2 separate regions of the Homo sapiens genome follow, and region 2 is linked to region 1. The links are contacts of gene promoters, found by promoter capture Hi-C in human tissues and cell types (Jung and others, 2019). All regions are on one chromosome and are shown on one strand. Each heading gives the region's core, a stretch centred on a gene start or on the middle of the fragment in contact. The rest is flanking DNA. Distances are from core to core; before and after follow the strand shown.

What was found. The method cuts DNA at HindIII sites, captures the fragments that hold promoters and counts their contacts. A contact is called where the count stands out against the background at its distance.
Region 2: a fragment that was not itself captured here is called in contact with the fragment with the promoter of ZNF354B in region 1 in 2 of the 25 tissues and cell types used here (liver and spleen).

Annotation. Positions count from the first base shown.
Region 1 is chr5:178,857,255-178,864,509 of GRCh38, forward strand. ZNF354B (zinc finger protein 354B) reads left to right here and starts at 2,699. Exons shown (of 5, transcript NM_058230.3): 1 at 2,699-2,873; 2 at 3,743-3,826. The coding sequence starts at 3,794. It overlaps LOC107986493 (a long non-coding RNA gene), which reads right to left. Exons shown (of 3, transcript XR_001743039.2): 3 at 5,471-5,779. RefSeq lists enhancers at 2,549-3,281, 2,566-2,765 and silencers at 2,906-3,105, 3,186-3,265. The HindIII fragment of the contact is 12,564 bases long and covers 1-7,255 here.
Region 2 is chr5:178,760,873-178,768,127 of GRCh38, forward strand. It overlaps the pseudogene AACSP1. Among named protein-coding and RNA genes, the nearest start is that of ZNF354A, 34 kb to the left of the region's middle. The HindIII fragment of the contact is 4,639 bases long and covers 1,089-5,727 here.

The DNA.
Region 1 (7,255 bases), core at 1,449-3,948:
AGGAGTGTGCCATCATGCCCAGCTAATTTTCATAATTTTTTTTTTTTTGTAGAGACAGGATCTCACTATGCTGCCCAAGCTGGTCTCAAACTCCTGGGCTCAAGCAGTTGTCCCACCTCAGCCTCCCAAAGTGCTGGGATTATAGGCATGTGCCACCACGCCTGGATAATTTTGTATTTTTAGTAGAGATGGGGTTTCACTATGTTGGTCAGCCTGGTCTGACCTCAGGTCATCCACCCACTTGGGCCTCCCAAAGTGCTGGGATTACAGGCATGAGCCACTGTGCCCAGCTGAGAAAGGATTTGTTTATTTATTTATTTGAGACAGAGTCTCGCTCTGTTGCCCAGGCTGGAATGCAGTGGTACAATCTCAGCTCACTGAAACCTCTGCCCTCCTGGGTTCAAGAGAGTCTCCTGCCTCAGTCTCCTGAGTAGCTGGGATTACAGGCGTGCCCCACCACGCCTGGCTAGTTTTTGTATTTTTAGTAGAGACGGGGTTTCACCATGTTGGCCAGGCTGGTCTCAAACCCCTGGCCTCAAGTGATGCACTTGCCTCAGCTTCTCAAAGTGCTGGGATTACAGGTGTGAGCCACCACACCCGACTGGAGGAAGGATTTTTATGGAAGACAGCAACACATTCGGCTTTGTGCTGAGAAGCAGAGTGTAGAAGAAAAACAGTAGATACTGGAAAAGGAGTCAAAAGCCATATGGTTTAGGGCCCACAACAAGGATTCTGGCTTTCACTCTAATTGCAAAGAGAAGACAATAAAACATCTCATTTTTGTTAAAAAATCTTTTTTACACCAGGCATAGTGGCTCACGCCTGTAATCCCAGCACTTTGGGAGGCCGAGGCGGGAGGATCACTTGAGCCTAGGCGTTTGAGACCAGCCTGGGCAACATAGTGAGACCCCGTCTCTCAAAAACAAAAACAAACAACAACAACAACAACAAAAAAAAACAGAAGCAGCAGCTTGTGGAAGTGTAGAGTAGTGTAGAGAGAGATAACAGGGCCTTGCACTGGGCAAGCAACCATGGAAGGACACCTGCAGTTCATGGCAACAGGGTGGGCGTGGCTCTACAAGTAAGGGACAGTTGTGCCATATGGAATTACCTATATGGGAAGATTGGTAATTAACACACAGGGAAATCACCATGCTACTTTCTTCTATGATTTTGACTATTTTAGATTCTACGTGTAAATGAAATAATGCAGTATTTGTATTTCTGTGCCTTCTTTATTTCACTTAACATAATGTCCTCCGGGTTCATCCATATTGTCACATATGTCAGGATTTCTTTATTTTTTTAAGGCAGAATAATATTCCTTTGTGTATATAAACACATTGTGGCCGGGCTCGGTGGCTCACGCCTGTAATCCGAGCACTTTGGGAGGCCGAGGAGGGTGGATCACGAGGTCAGAAGTTCAAGACCAGCCTGGTGAAGATGGTGAAACCCCATCTCTATTAAAACTACAAAAATTAGCTGGGCGTGGTCGCGGGTGCCTGTAATCCCTGCTACTTGGGAGACTGAGGCAGAGAACTGCTTGAACCTGGAAGGCGGAGGTGGCAGTGAGCCAAGATTGCGCCATTGCACTCCAGCCTGGGTGACAGAGCAAGACACCGTCCCAAACAAACAAACAAACAAAACATTTCCTTTATCTATTCATCCATCAACAGATAGTTGTTTCCATATCTTGGCCATGGTGAATAATGTTGCAGCTAACATGGGAGTGCAGGTATCTCACGGAGTTTCACTTCCTCTGGATCTATAGCCAGAAATGGGATTGGTGGATCCTAATGTAGCTCTAGTTATAATTTTTTGAGGAACCTCTATACCGTTTTCTGTAATGATTGTACCAATTTACATCCTTTTGATAGTGGCCATCCTAATGGAGGTGCAGTGATTTCTCATTGAGTTTGGGTTTATATTTCTCTTATACCTAGAGATGTTTACCATCTTTTTATATGCTTGTTGCTCATTGCTCATTTGTATATCTTCATTGGAGAATTGCCTATTCAAGTCCTTTGTCCATTTTAAAATCAGGTTATTTGGTTTTGTTATTGTTGTTGAGTTGTAAAAGTTCCATATAAATCCAGGATACATTGCAAATCAGATATATGATATGTAAGCATTTTCGTCTATTCTGTAGATTGCCTTTGTTTCCTTTGATTAGCCAAAGTTTTTAAGTTTGATGTAGTCCCATTTGTCTATTTTTGCTGTTATCTGTGCTTCTGATGTCATATTCAAGAAATCATTGCCATCTCCAACATCCTGAAGTTTTTTCCCTTTTTACTTTAGTAATTTATAAAATAATTTGGTCTCACATTTAGGTTTTTAATCAATTTTGAGTTAATTTTTATGTATGGTGTACGGTCAGGGTACAGGCTCATCTTTTGCACGTGGAAATCCAGCTTTGTCAACATCTTTTGCAGGGGATTTTCCTTTCCCAATTGTGTAGTAGTTGTTTTCGTGCCGCCCACGCCATCCTGAAATTCACACACAGAGTTGCAAGTTACTGCCCTCCGGGAACCTCCCCTTCTCTTCCGAAGAACCAGGAACCCGGGGCTCTACAGCTCACCCGGGCCCTCTCATAGGTCTGGGCGCCTAACAGCTCAGCTGCGACCTCGCCTCAAACGCGTGGAACTACACTTCCCAGAAAGCCAGCGTCCTCCCGTGGACTCCATTTCCTAGAGGCCTTAGCGGCCGCCTTGCTCCTCTAGGTCCCAGGCGCTCTGCGGAGCTTTCGCTGCCCGGTGAGCGGCGCCGGGCTTGAGGTCGCCCAGACGTCGGAGGAGCCGGGTCACGAGGCTGGAGCTTCCTGCTTGCAGAGTGCGGCGGGGAGGCGCGGCCCGGGAACGCGGGATCCTGGGGAGGTGAGCGGCATGGCTGGCTGTGCCGGGAGGAGGCGGCGCCTGGCGCCAGGGCGACCTGAGGCCGCGGGGCTCCGAGGGCCTCTGTGGGCGCGGGGGGGCACCCCCGCGTCTGTCACCGGCCCCCGCGCCAGGACTTGGACTCTCGCCCCTCACGGGCCGCTCCGGTGCCGCTGCCGACGCCCCTGCCTCTGGCTCGCGCCGCCCGCCGTGAACGCGGGGCCAGGCGTTTCCTCCCGGGCCCACCCTGCGCGCGCCGTGTGGGCCTCGCGGACTCGGGGCGCCGGGACCCCGAGCGCAGGGCAGAGGCAGCCGGGCCCGGTTTCTGAGTCAGTCCCCAGGACGGCCACTCCTCCTGCCTCGGGACACCCAGCGCTTTCCTCTTCAAAGCCGTTTTCCGTGGAGTCGGGAGACGATTCGTTGGCGGGAGAGAGAGGAACCGGCTGGGAAAGGCTTGAGGCGGAGGGAAGTCGTCCCGGGGCCGTCGTGGTGGGAGTCCCGGCCCGCCTCGCAGCGGCGTGAACGGGGCAGGTGCCCCGGCGCTGCCTCAGTTTCCTGAGCGGTGCAGTGGGTGCTGGCAGTGCCAGCTGGCGCCGAGGAACTCAGCGGCGTGGGGCGAGCCCTGGCCCTGGTGGGCTCAGCGGGTCGCTGCTGCCACTGCGGGTCCAGCGTCCCCTCCGTAAGCCCCAAGCCTGTGGGGCCTGGGCCTGGCCGGGCGGCCCAGCGCTGCTCTGGTCCGCGGGCTCCTGGCTCCTCCCGAATCCCTGTGAGGGCGCGCGGGGTCCTTCTCAGCGGGAGTCGGGGTTTTAGAGCTGCGGATTCCAGGGCTGGAAAGCAGAAGGGGTTCTTCCTGGCTCCCTTTTTCTTCTCAGATCTGCCTTCTGGAGACTGCGCCGTCCTCCCGGGAGAGCCAGAAAGAGGACATGGCTGCTGGGCAGCGGGAAGCGAGGCCCCAGGTGAGCTCATTGCCCTCCCAGATCCCAGTGGATGGATTTTCCCCACTAACTGGAGTTCTTCACCCGGGACCATCTCCAGCCAGGATGGAGCCCAAGTCCTTTTCTCTTGGAGGAGCTGGTCCGCCCTCATGACTGGTGGATTCTGTAGGGAGGACCACCCACCCTCCCCACCCGTGTCTAGTGGTTTTTAATTAACAGTTTGTTCACGAATCTTCATCCATTGTGTGACTAGTTTGACAAGTAAGATACCACAAGTCTGTCTGTCACTAAGAGCAAACGTACACACGTGGGAAAAATCCCTGCCTCCTCCACTCACCCATGTCTCCGTTCCTGTCCTTCGCAGGAATACTTTCTCTTTTCACCCCTGAGAATCCTCATAACACCACCCCTTCCCCAGGCTTCTCCAACGCATCGTTGTTAGTTTTTTGTCCCTCTTAACTTTGTGAATCATATTCTTTGCTTGTATCACTGTCTTGAAATCTATTGTAGACCGTTTTCATTTTTGTGTAGTGGGAATGAGGAGGCCACCCTTTCTAGTTGAGACGAGAGTGAACAGAGTTGGAGAGGTCGCTTGACTCGCAGGACACAGAAGACCCCTCAGCTAGCGGCAGGAAGGGTTTCATGGGATAGCAATAGTGCAGAGGCAGCGTAGGTGGTAGTTAGGAAGTAGGGCTGTTAAGCCAGATGGCAGCGTTTTAACCCATCTCCTCTGTTGCTGTTTGTGGGCCTTGGGCTTCACCTCTCTGTGCCTCAGTTTTCTCACCTGTAAAATGGGAATAACAGCCGTGCCCACCTCCCAGCGTAGATGAAGGGATCACATGAGTTAGTGTGTGGAAAGTGTTCGGATCAGGGCTGGGCACTGAGTAGTTACTGCTCAGCATATGGTGGTTGTGTTTGCTGAGTGACATTATTGTCTTAATATATTAATGTTAATGTTGGTAGATAGAAACTGCTGTACAATGTGTTTAGGACCCAGACGATGTTATCCTTTATTCATTTTTTTATCTAACAATACTAATGTCCACCGAGTGTCTAGCATACCAGGGAATGGGCTGAGGGCTTTACATTTGTTCTCTCACTCGCACAGTAGCACAACAATTACAATTCTTGTTTTACATGTGAGGAAACTGAGGCTCAGAAAAGTTAAGTAACCTGAGTACAGTCCAAGTATGCCTGGCTCTGAGTTCCGTCGGACCACCCAGTCGTCCCTGTGGTGCGTCTTTCAGAGTATGGGCAGATGCAGCCACGCGATACCAGAGTGCTTCTGCAGCGTGGCATTATCTTTTTTTTTTTTTTTTTTTTTTGAGAGGCAGTCTTGCTCTGTCACCCAGGCTGGAGTGCAGTGGCGCGATCTCGGCTCACTGCAACCTCCGCCTCCCTGGTTCAAGCAATTCCCCTGCCTCAGCCTCCTGAGTAGCTAGGACTACAGGCATGTGCCACCACGCCCGGCTAATTTTTTTTTGTATTTTAGTAGAGACGGGGTTTCACCATGTTGGCCAGGATGGCCTCAATCTCCTGACCTCGTGATCCACCAGCCACAGCCTCCCGGAGTGCTGGGATTAAAGGTGTGAGCCGCCGCGCCTGGCGGCGTTATCTTTTAAACTAGCCAAGACAGTGGAGTGGGAGCTGAGGGTGTGGCCAGAACAGGCTATTGTGCATTTGAGCTGGTATTTGTCCTCGAAGGCATTCCTATTCCATTCTCACAGAGCCAAGCTGCTCTCCTGACTAGAACCTTCTCCATCCCTGTGTGTGGGTGAGTCTCTGTGGCATCCTTCCTGTCTGTTCTTGCTTGCCATGCGTCAGTAATGTGTAGACCTGTGTGTAAAATTCAGTGAAGGGAATTTTAAGACCAGAGAGTGCAGAGTTCACAATTAGAAAACCGGAGTTATGATCTTGCTGCTACCTCTAGCAAAGCACATGACCTGGGATCTTGGCTGCCCTGGACCTTGTGTTCTTGTCTCAGGGCTCTATGCAGATACACAGTGGTTCAAATTATTTCATGCATTTTCTAGTCCGCCAGTCAGATTATACATTCTTTGAGAACAAAGATCATGTCTTGTACTCTTCCCCAATATGCAGATAATTTGATGCTCTTTTTCACCATAAAAATATTGCAGGGTTATGGTGTAAATTTTAGAGAATAAAACATTTATATATATACATATGTATATGTGTGTGTATATATATGTATGTTTATGGATACGTGTGTATATATATGTGCATATGTATGTGTATGTTTATATAGTTGTGCATTGCATAATGACATTTTGGTCAATAAAAGACCATAAATGTGATAGTGGTCCCATAAGATTAAAACCTAGCTGAAAGATTCCTGTCTCCTAATGACTAAGTAGCTATTGTAACATTATAGTGCAGGGCTTTGCTCCTGTTTTGTGGTGATGCTGGTATAAACAGACCTACCATGCAGCCTGCCAGTCCTATAAAAGTATACAGCATATGCGATTGTACAGTTCATAATAGTTGATGATATCTGACTGTGTTGCTGGGTTATATATTTATTGTACTATTCTTGTTATTTTACAGTGTCTTCCTTTTGCTTGTTTTTTAAAAAGTTAACTGTAACAGCCTCAGGCAGGTTCTTTGAGAGGTATGCAGAAGAAAGCTTTGTTCTCATAGGAGATGACAGCTGCATGTGTGTCATTGCCCCTGAAGACCTTCCAGTGGGGCAGGGTGGAGAGGTGGAAGACAGTGGTGTTGATGCTGACCCGTGTAGGCCTAGACTAATGTGCATATTTATGTCCTAGTTTTTAACAAAAAAATTTTTAAAGTAAAAATAAAATTAAAAGCTTTTGAAATAGGAGAAAGCTTATAAAATAAGGATATAAAGAAAGAAAATATTTTTGTACAGCTAGACAATGTGTTTAAGATAAGTGTTACTACAAAAGAGTCAAAGTTTGAAAAAATTAAAAAGTTTAGAAAGTAAAAGTTACAGTAAGCTAAGGACAATTTGTTAAAGAAAACTTTAAAAAAATAAATTTAGTGTAGCCTAAGTGTACAGTGTTTAAAATGTCTACAGTCATGCACAATAGTGTCCTAAGTTTCACATTCACTCACTGCTTACTCAGCCAGGCGACTTCCAGTCCTGGAAGCTCCATTCATGGCAAGAGCCCTATACAGGTGTACCATTTCTTCTGTTTTATGCTGTAGCGTACCATGCCTTTTTTATGTTTAAATATATTTACATGCACAGACACTTAGCATTGTCTTACAGTTCTCTACAGTATTCAGTACGGTAACATGCTGTACAGGTTTGTAGCCTAGGAGTAACAGGCTGTACCATATAGCCCGGGTGTGTGGGAGGCCATACCATCCAGGTTTCTCTCTTATATTCCCATAATGATGAAATGGCTTAACAATGCATTTCTCAGAATGTACCTCCATCGTTAATGCGACACACGACTGTGTACT
Region 2 (7,255 bases), core at 2,158-4,657, 96 kb before region 1:
TGCACCACTGCACTCCAGCCTGGGCGACAGAGCAGGACTCCATCTCGTAACAAAACAAAACAAAAAAGAACTATGGTGACCCAGGTAAGTGTGAGCTCACTTAGAGTAGAGTGAGAGCAACACAGGAAAGCTGCTCAGGGAAAACCAGGTTCCTGTTTGGTGCTGGAAATTGTCGATGAAGAGAGTCAAATTCTGATATTTGGAGATTTACCCTTAGCCAAATGTGAGGACCATGACCCGTGACACAGCCCCAGGAAGTCCTGAGAACCTGTGCCCAAAGTGTTCAGGCTACAGTTTGGTTTTACACATTTTAGGGAGACATGAGACATCAATCAATATATGTAAAATGTACATTGGTTCAGTCCGGAAAGGTGGGACATCTCAAAGCGGGTTGTTGGGGGGTTTCCGGGTCATAGATGAATTCAAAGATTTCCCGATCGGCAGTTGGTTGAAAGAGTTAAATCATTATCTAAAGACCTGAAATCAACAGAACAGAGGGTCTGGGTTCAGGGGTTGTGGAGACCAAGGTTTTTATTACGCAGGTGAAGCCTCCAGGTAGTAGGCTTCGGAGAAAATAGATTGTAAATGTTTCTTATCAGACTTAAAAAGAATCCAGACCCACTGGGCGCCATGGCTCACGCCTGTAATCCCAGCACAGTGGGAGGCTGAGCTGGGTGGATCACCTGAGGTCAGGAGTTCAAAACCAGCCTGGACAACATGGTGAAACCCTGTCTCTGAGAACTGCTTGAACCTCAGAGGCGGAGGTTGCAGTGAGACAAGATCGTACCACTGCCCTCCAACCTGGGCGACTCTGTCTCAAAAAAAAATAAAATAGATAAAATTGAAAAAGAGGATGCTGAAGCTTAGAATGGGGACATCTGGTGGGACTCAGATGAAACTGAGAATCTTGAATCCACAAGTCACTCTGAGCCTCTTTTGCCAAACGAAGGAGCTTGCTCTGTTGTGTCTAAGGAGACTAGCTGCCCTTTTCTTGAAAACTGTATGACAATCTCACATGAGGAGATGCCTATTCTCCTTCAGACCCACCACAACTACCACCAGTTGGCACCAGACTCACAACTAGGATCTTAGATTTTTAGTACCCACTATGGCCTAGAATGAGATTGCTTTTACACCAAGAGAACTGCAAGATGTTGCCAATCTATGTTGGCAGAAACCTAGGGAGTGTGTGAGCGTGTCAGACCAAGGCAGGCAGAAGAACATGACCTACAGTAGACTGAACTCCCTGACCTAGGTACACTAAGATTTTGGATATCACGTGTTAGTTTGCTTAACTGGAGGTGGCTCTCAAAGCTTATTTGGTTGGTGGCTGGAACTAGGACTCCATGGTGGCCTAAGATGAGTGGGCAGAGATGCCAGAGCTGCCCTGGCATGGTTGGAGGAGGGAATCTGAAGGCCTAGGGAGACGAAATGTTGAAAGGATTTTTACCACGGCAACCTGCACGCCTACCCACCAACTACATCCCCCAGGAGACCCCAGAAAATGCCTTCTTTACTAAGGTGTTGAGAAATACATTCATGGGGGGAACACCTGCATCCTTAGAAGGTCTGTGGCTTTCTCCTTTGTAGGCCAGGTATGATGGATCGGGGGTGTGGCCACCATTGATGTGAGCTCCCAACAGCAGAAGCCAAGAGGCAGTGCCCAACCTCCAGACGCAGTGCGAGCATGCCCGCCATCACGGACCGCAGCACGTGCCTGTGGTCAGCAAGCCCTGGCCTGTAGGAGGTTTGGCAGAGACTAACTGTCCCAAGGTCTCTGCGACTGAAACAGATGAGAAGCCTGCTAGAACACTGCCTGGGAACTCACCTCACAACAAAGGGAGTGGAGCACTGGGTTCAGGCCCATAGAATTCACTTCAAGGAGAAGGAAAAAAAGCAGAGACACAGACGGCAGCAAAGGCAAGAAACCAGCAGCCCCAGGGAAAGCAGCAAGGCCAGCTTTGTGCTCCATTTGGCAAATTGCTAAGGTAACTGAACAAAATATAACTAATGAACAATTACAGTGAAGTTCATAATTAGCTCCTTGAAACACCTGATAAAAAATATTTCAGATTCTTTTTTAAAACAACCATACTCAAGTGAGGTGAGGAGAGGCCGACCCAGGAATTGGAGAAAGCTATGAATGGTTCCTCTGGTTTGAAAGGAACAAAGCCCCCTAAATCATTATCCAGGTAACAGCACTGGCCTCCCAGAGCTGATATGCTAATTTGAAGGAGAGAGTGAATGTGAGTGGCTAACTCGAGGCTTGACATGTAGTACATGAACAAGAAATACTTGTTCCTTCCCTCCTGTTGGGCAAGAAGTTCACTGAGGGTAGACAATGCCATCCATTACTGTCTATATTCTGTGGGGTTCTCTGGGAGCCTGACACCAAGAGATTCTTAGAAAGTATAGCTAAAAAAGAATTTTTTTTTTTTTTTTGAGACGAAGTCTTGCTGCTCTGCCGCCCAGGCTGGAGTGCAGTGGCGCGATCTCAGCTAACTGCTACCTCTGCCTCCCGGGTTCAAGCAATTCTCCTGTCTCAGCCTCCTGAGAAGCTGGGATTACAGGCATGTGCCACCATGCCCGGCTAATTTTGTATTTTTAGTGGAGACGGGGCTTCACATGTTGGTCAAGCTGGTCTCGAACTCCTGACTTCATGATCTGCCTGCCTCAGTCTCCCAAAGTGCTGGGATTACAGGCATGAGGCACTGTGCCTGGTGAGAATATCCTTGTTTTCAGGAATTCACAATAGAGTATTTAGGGACAAAGGCACATTGTGTGTGCAGTTGACTCAAACCATTTAGAAAAAAAATACACATAAGTACGTGTGTATGTGTGTGTACGTAAGGAGAGAGAAAAGGATTAAGCAAATGTCACATAATGCCAACATTTGGGCAGTTTGAGTGAAGATTATCTAGAATTGTTAGTGCTATTTTTGAAACTTTAATTTGAAATTATATCAAAACACAGAAAGTAAAGGAAAGGAATACAGATACTTGCTTCCCAGTTTCCTCTAGAGCTAGCGGTGGCCATGAGATACAGTTCTTAGCCAATGAGTCGGAGGAGAAGGCTGCTGACAATCTTTCTGGGGAGAAACTTCCCCCTGGTCAAATAAGAACGGGCTTCAAAGAGACTTCTCACTGCACTGGCTGCCTCATTGCTTTAAGTATTTGAGGATGTGGTGCCGGAGCTGCAGCAGCCATCTTGTGACCATGAGGAAAAGCCCAAGAAACTCACAAAGCTTTCCCCATGTATGAGTTTCCGTGACACTGTTGCCCCACTTATGTTACATAGGATCATTCAATTCCTATACTCCTTCAATCCCACTCATCATTCCAGGCCCAGTGTCAGAACCTGTATCACTCAGGACCAGGGGGACAGAGCAGCCCCCATGTCAAACATGACCAAAGGGAAAAGAGAGCTTTGGAGACTCTTACATCAGCAATTAAGACCTGTGACGTAAAAATGATACGTCCCTTCCACTCACAACTCATTGGCCTTCATACAGCACATGGCCCAGCCTTGATTCCACAATTCTTATTCTTGAGGGGTTTTCATGCCTAAGTTTTGCCTCTTTTCCTCAACTATAAATTCCTCATGGTAAGTTTTTAAAGTTTTTAAAGATAATGATGCCCAGAGTTTTCTCCCAACTATTAAAATCATCACCTGAAGTCAGGAGTTCGAGACAAGCCTGGGCAACACGGTGAAACCCCATCTCTACTAAAAATACAAAAATTAGCTGGACAAGTGGTGCACACCTGCAATCCCAGCTACTCGGGAGGCTGAGGCACGAGAATCTCTTGAACCTGGGAGGCAGAGGTTGCAGTGAGCCGGTATTATGCCGCTGCACTCCAGCCTGAGTGACAGAGTCAGACTCTGTCTTAAAAAAAAAAAAAAAAAAAAAAATCAGAATCCTTAGGAGTAGGGCCTAGAAATCAGATTTTACAATTCAGGTAAAACATACATTTATAGTCCACAGCAAAAATTTTAACTGTACATCTCAAATATCTTTATTATGGTAAAATATACATAACGTAAAACTTGCCACTCCACCCATTTTTAAGTGTACAGTTCAGTGGCATTAAGTACATTCACAGTGTTATGCAAAAGTCACCACCATCCATTTCTAGAAACTTTTCATCATTCCAAACTAAAACTATGTACCCATTAAATATTCACTCCCCATTCCTTCTCTCTCCCCTTCCCTGAATAAGCTCTGGTCTACTTTCTGTCCCTGTGAATGTGACTATTCTGGGTATTTCATGTAAGTGGAATCATACAGTATTTGTCATTTTGTGACCAGTGTCTGTCACGATAATGGGTTCAAGGTTCATACACATTGCAGTGTGTGTCAGAACTTCATTCCTTTTCGTGGCTGAATAACATTCTATTGTAGGGACAGAACAGTAACCATTCATCAGCAAATGCTTGTGTTGTTTCCACCTTTTGGTGGTTGTGAATAACGCTGCTACAAACATTAGCTTACAAGCATCTGCTTCTGTCCTTGCTTTCAGTTCTTTTGGGTATATACCTAGGAGTGCAATTCCTGGCTCACAGGGTAATTACATGTTTAACTTTTTGAGGAGCCACCAGTGTGTTTCCACAGCAGCTGCCCCAATTTACATTCCCACCAGTAAGGCACCAGGGTTCAGTTTCTCCATATCCTCACCAAAGCCCAAGTTTTTGCTACACATATATGAACTCAAGTAACCACCACGTGGATAAAGACATCTAACATTTCCTGCATCCCAGAAGGTACCCTCATGGAAACCGGTATTGTTGCAAGCTCCCCAGCAGCCAGGGTCAAGAACCACGTCTTAAACTTTTAGGGGTTCTATCTCTGTCAAGGTTGGCTAACTCTCAACCTAAGAATAAGCCTCAAGTCTGAAGATGGAACATTAAAAATGACATTGTCACCTTGACAGAGTGGTTAATAACACCCCAGCGGGCCGGAGCCCATCAATCATGGGCTGCTGCCTTCTGTTTCGAGAGCTGAGGAAGACACCAAGATGGAAAGGAGGGAGGCAGCACAGGACAAGCTGGAGTGGCTGCCTAGGCACAGAAATCCCATACCACGCCTCCCCAGGCCTCTCCCCAGACTGGGAACAATAAATCTAGCAGCCAGATAGAAGCACTGCCCTCCCTGAATTCAATTTGCAAGGTCAACCAGGCCTAACAGAATTGTGACATCGGCGTCGCAGTCATTTACAACCCACTCTTGCCGTGTCTGAACATGAAAGCAATTATGTGATACATACTTTGGCAAGAACCTGAAGCTCCCATCAAGGGCGAGAGAAACACTGTCGAGTCAGGATATGTAAAGAAAGAACAAAGGAAAAGAAGGAAAGCCATAAAGACACATTCATAATGAAAATTTGAAAATTTCCACTTCCTTAGAAATCACATAAGAAGACTTAAGAGTCAGAAACCTTTTGAAAGCTCCATTGTCTTAAAAGTATAAATAGTATCTTTTTAGAAACCCACAATTTCAATCAAGCTGGAATAATGGGAAGTACCATTCATTGAACGTTGTCTTTTGAAATTTCATGACACATGAAATGATTCTCACTCAAAATCGAATTAGAGGCTCAAGCATGTGAGTTTGTGACAATGTCAAAGTGACTTGGAAAATGTACACGTAATTGATCTTCTTCACTGGGGTATGATTTTTTTGATCAATCTAGATATTCAGGAAGTACCCACGATATCAAAAGAGGGAGTCTCACTATCCTTCTTGGGAACTCTTTCCAAAAGGGCTGGCCCTAGCCCATGTGACCTTGGGCAAGCTCCCTGAACTTGGGCCTTATTCCCCATCTTCCAAATAGGGATAATGATGACACCTACCTTCTAGGGTTATACTCAGGATCGTGGCCCTGGAACAGCACCCAGCATATGGTATGTACTACAGCAGTGTTAGCTATTATTGGCAGGAAATGGCTAGGCCCCAAGGGCTCAGCAGAACCCAGCCCAAAGCCCACACAACTGTGACTCCAGCCCCTGAAGTCAGTGGTCTCAGGCCCTGTTGCAAAAGGACAGCTCGGCAGACCACACAGTAGAAGCCATATCCTTTAGCCACCAGACAGCCCAGCGGACAAAAGCCTTAGCAACAGGCACAGAGAGGACCCAGGAGTCGTTACCAAAACTGCAGTTCCCTCCACCCCAGCCTGGGTGAGGCAGGAGCACCCACCACCTCCCTCTTCAAATGCCTTCTTTCAGGTGCCAGTTCCCACCGGCAGCCCTTAAGCACAGCTTGCCTGCAAGCCAGGGACTCCTGCGCCAGGCCATTCAAGGTTTCCATCCTCCCTGTGCCAGCCAGTCCGACTCAGAAGCCATTCAGCTCAGGGATGTCCCAGTACAGATGCAGGGCCTCGGGGTTCGAGAAAGCACCTCGTTGCTCCATGGCTTTTCGAGCGATGATCTGTTTGACGGCAACTTCCACTTTATTGCCACTGAGCGTGTACTGCGAGGGAAGGGTAGAAAAAAACAAGAAACTGCACTTAAACCTGAAGCGGGGAAAACGCACGGCCCTGGGTATATCCAGGCCCAAAAGGCCCAGCCTCCACCCGGAGAGCCAAGAGTGAATGAGTCTCAGCTCCAAGACGCCCCTCTCCCTGCTAGGTCTGCAAAACCTATTTCTGAAAGGCAATTTCAAGACCTGGTGCTGAAACCCAAGTCTAACACTCCCTGAAACCCTCCCACACTGCCCCTGGCACAGTTATTGAGAAAGTGAGGCTATTTCAGAGATGCCCAGAGGTCACCATGAGCACCTTCATTTTTCTAACGCTGCACACCTCAATGGGCCCCACTGGGACCCGCTGCATGTGTCACATCCAAGCTGACCTCCAGAGGGCCCTCAAGACACCCCACTGACCCCGGCAGTGCATATTCCAGATGGGAACATAAAAAAAGTGTCTCTCAGGGTCCAGGCTCTGCCTGACCAGGATGAAAATGCAGACATAAGATCATTCCTAAATCTGAGCAGGCACCCTGAGCAAGAAAGTTTTCAGGGAAGATGTGGCTTCTGCCACCACCACATCTGGGGGATGCTGGGTGAATTCCTGAACCTGGTTCATTTCCTTGAATGAAAGTGGGGGTGCCAGCACCTAGGCTGTAGGGCTGTGAGTCAGGGGGTAAACAGGTCAGTGCACGCACAGCTTCAGAAGCGCCTAGCTACTATGTTTTATGATGATTTTACTTTTATTTATACTTTTACTTCTCTATACATTTTATTACATTATTCTATGATAAAGAC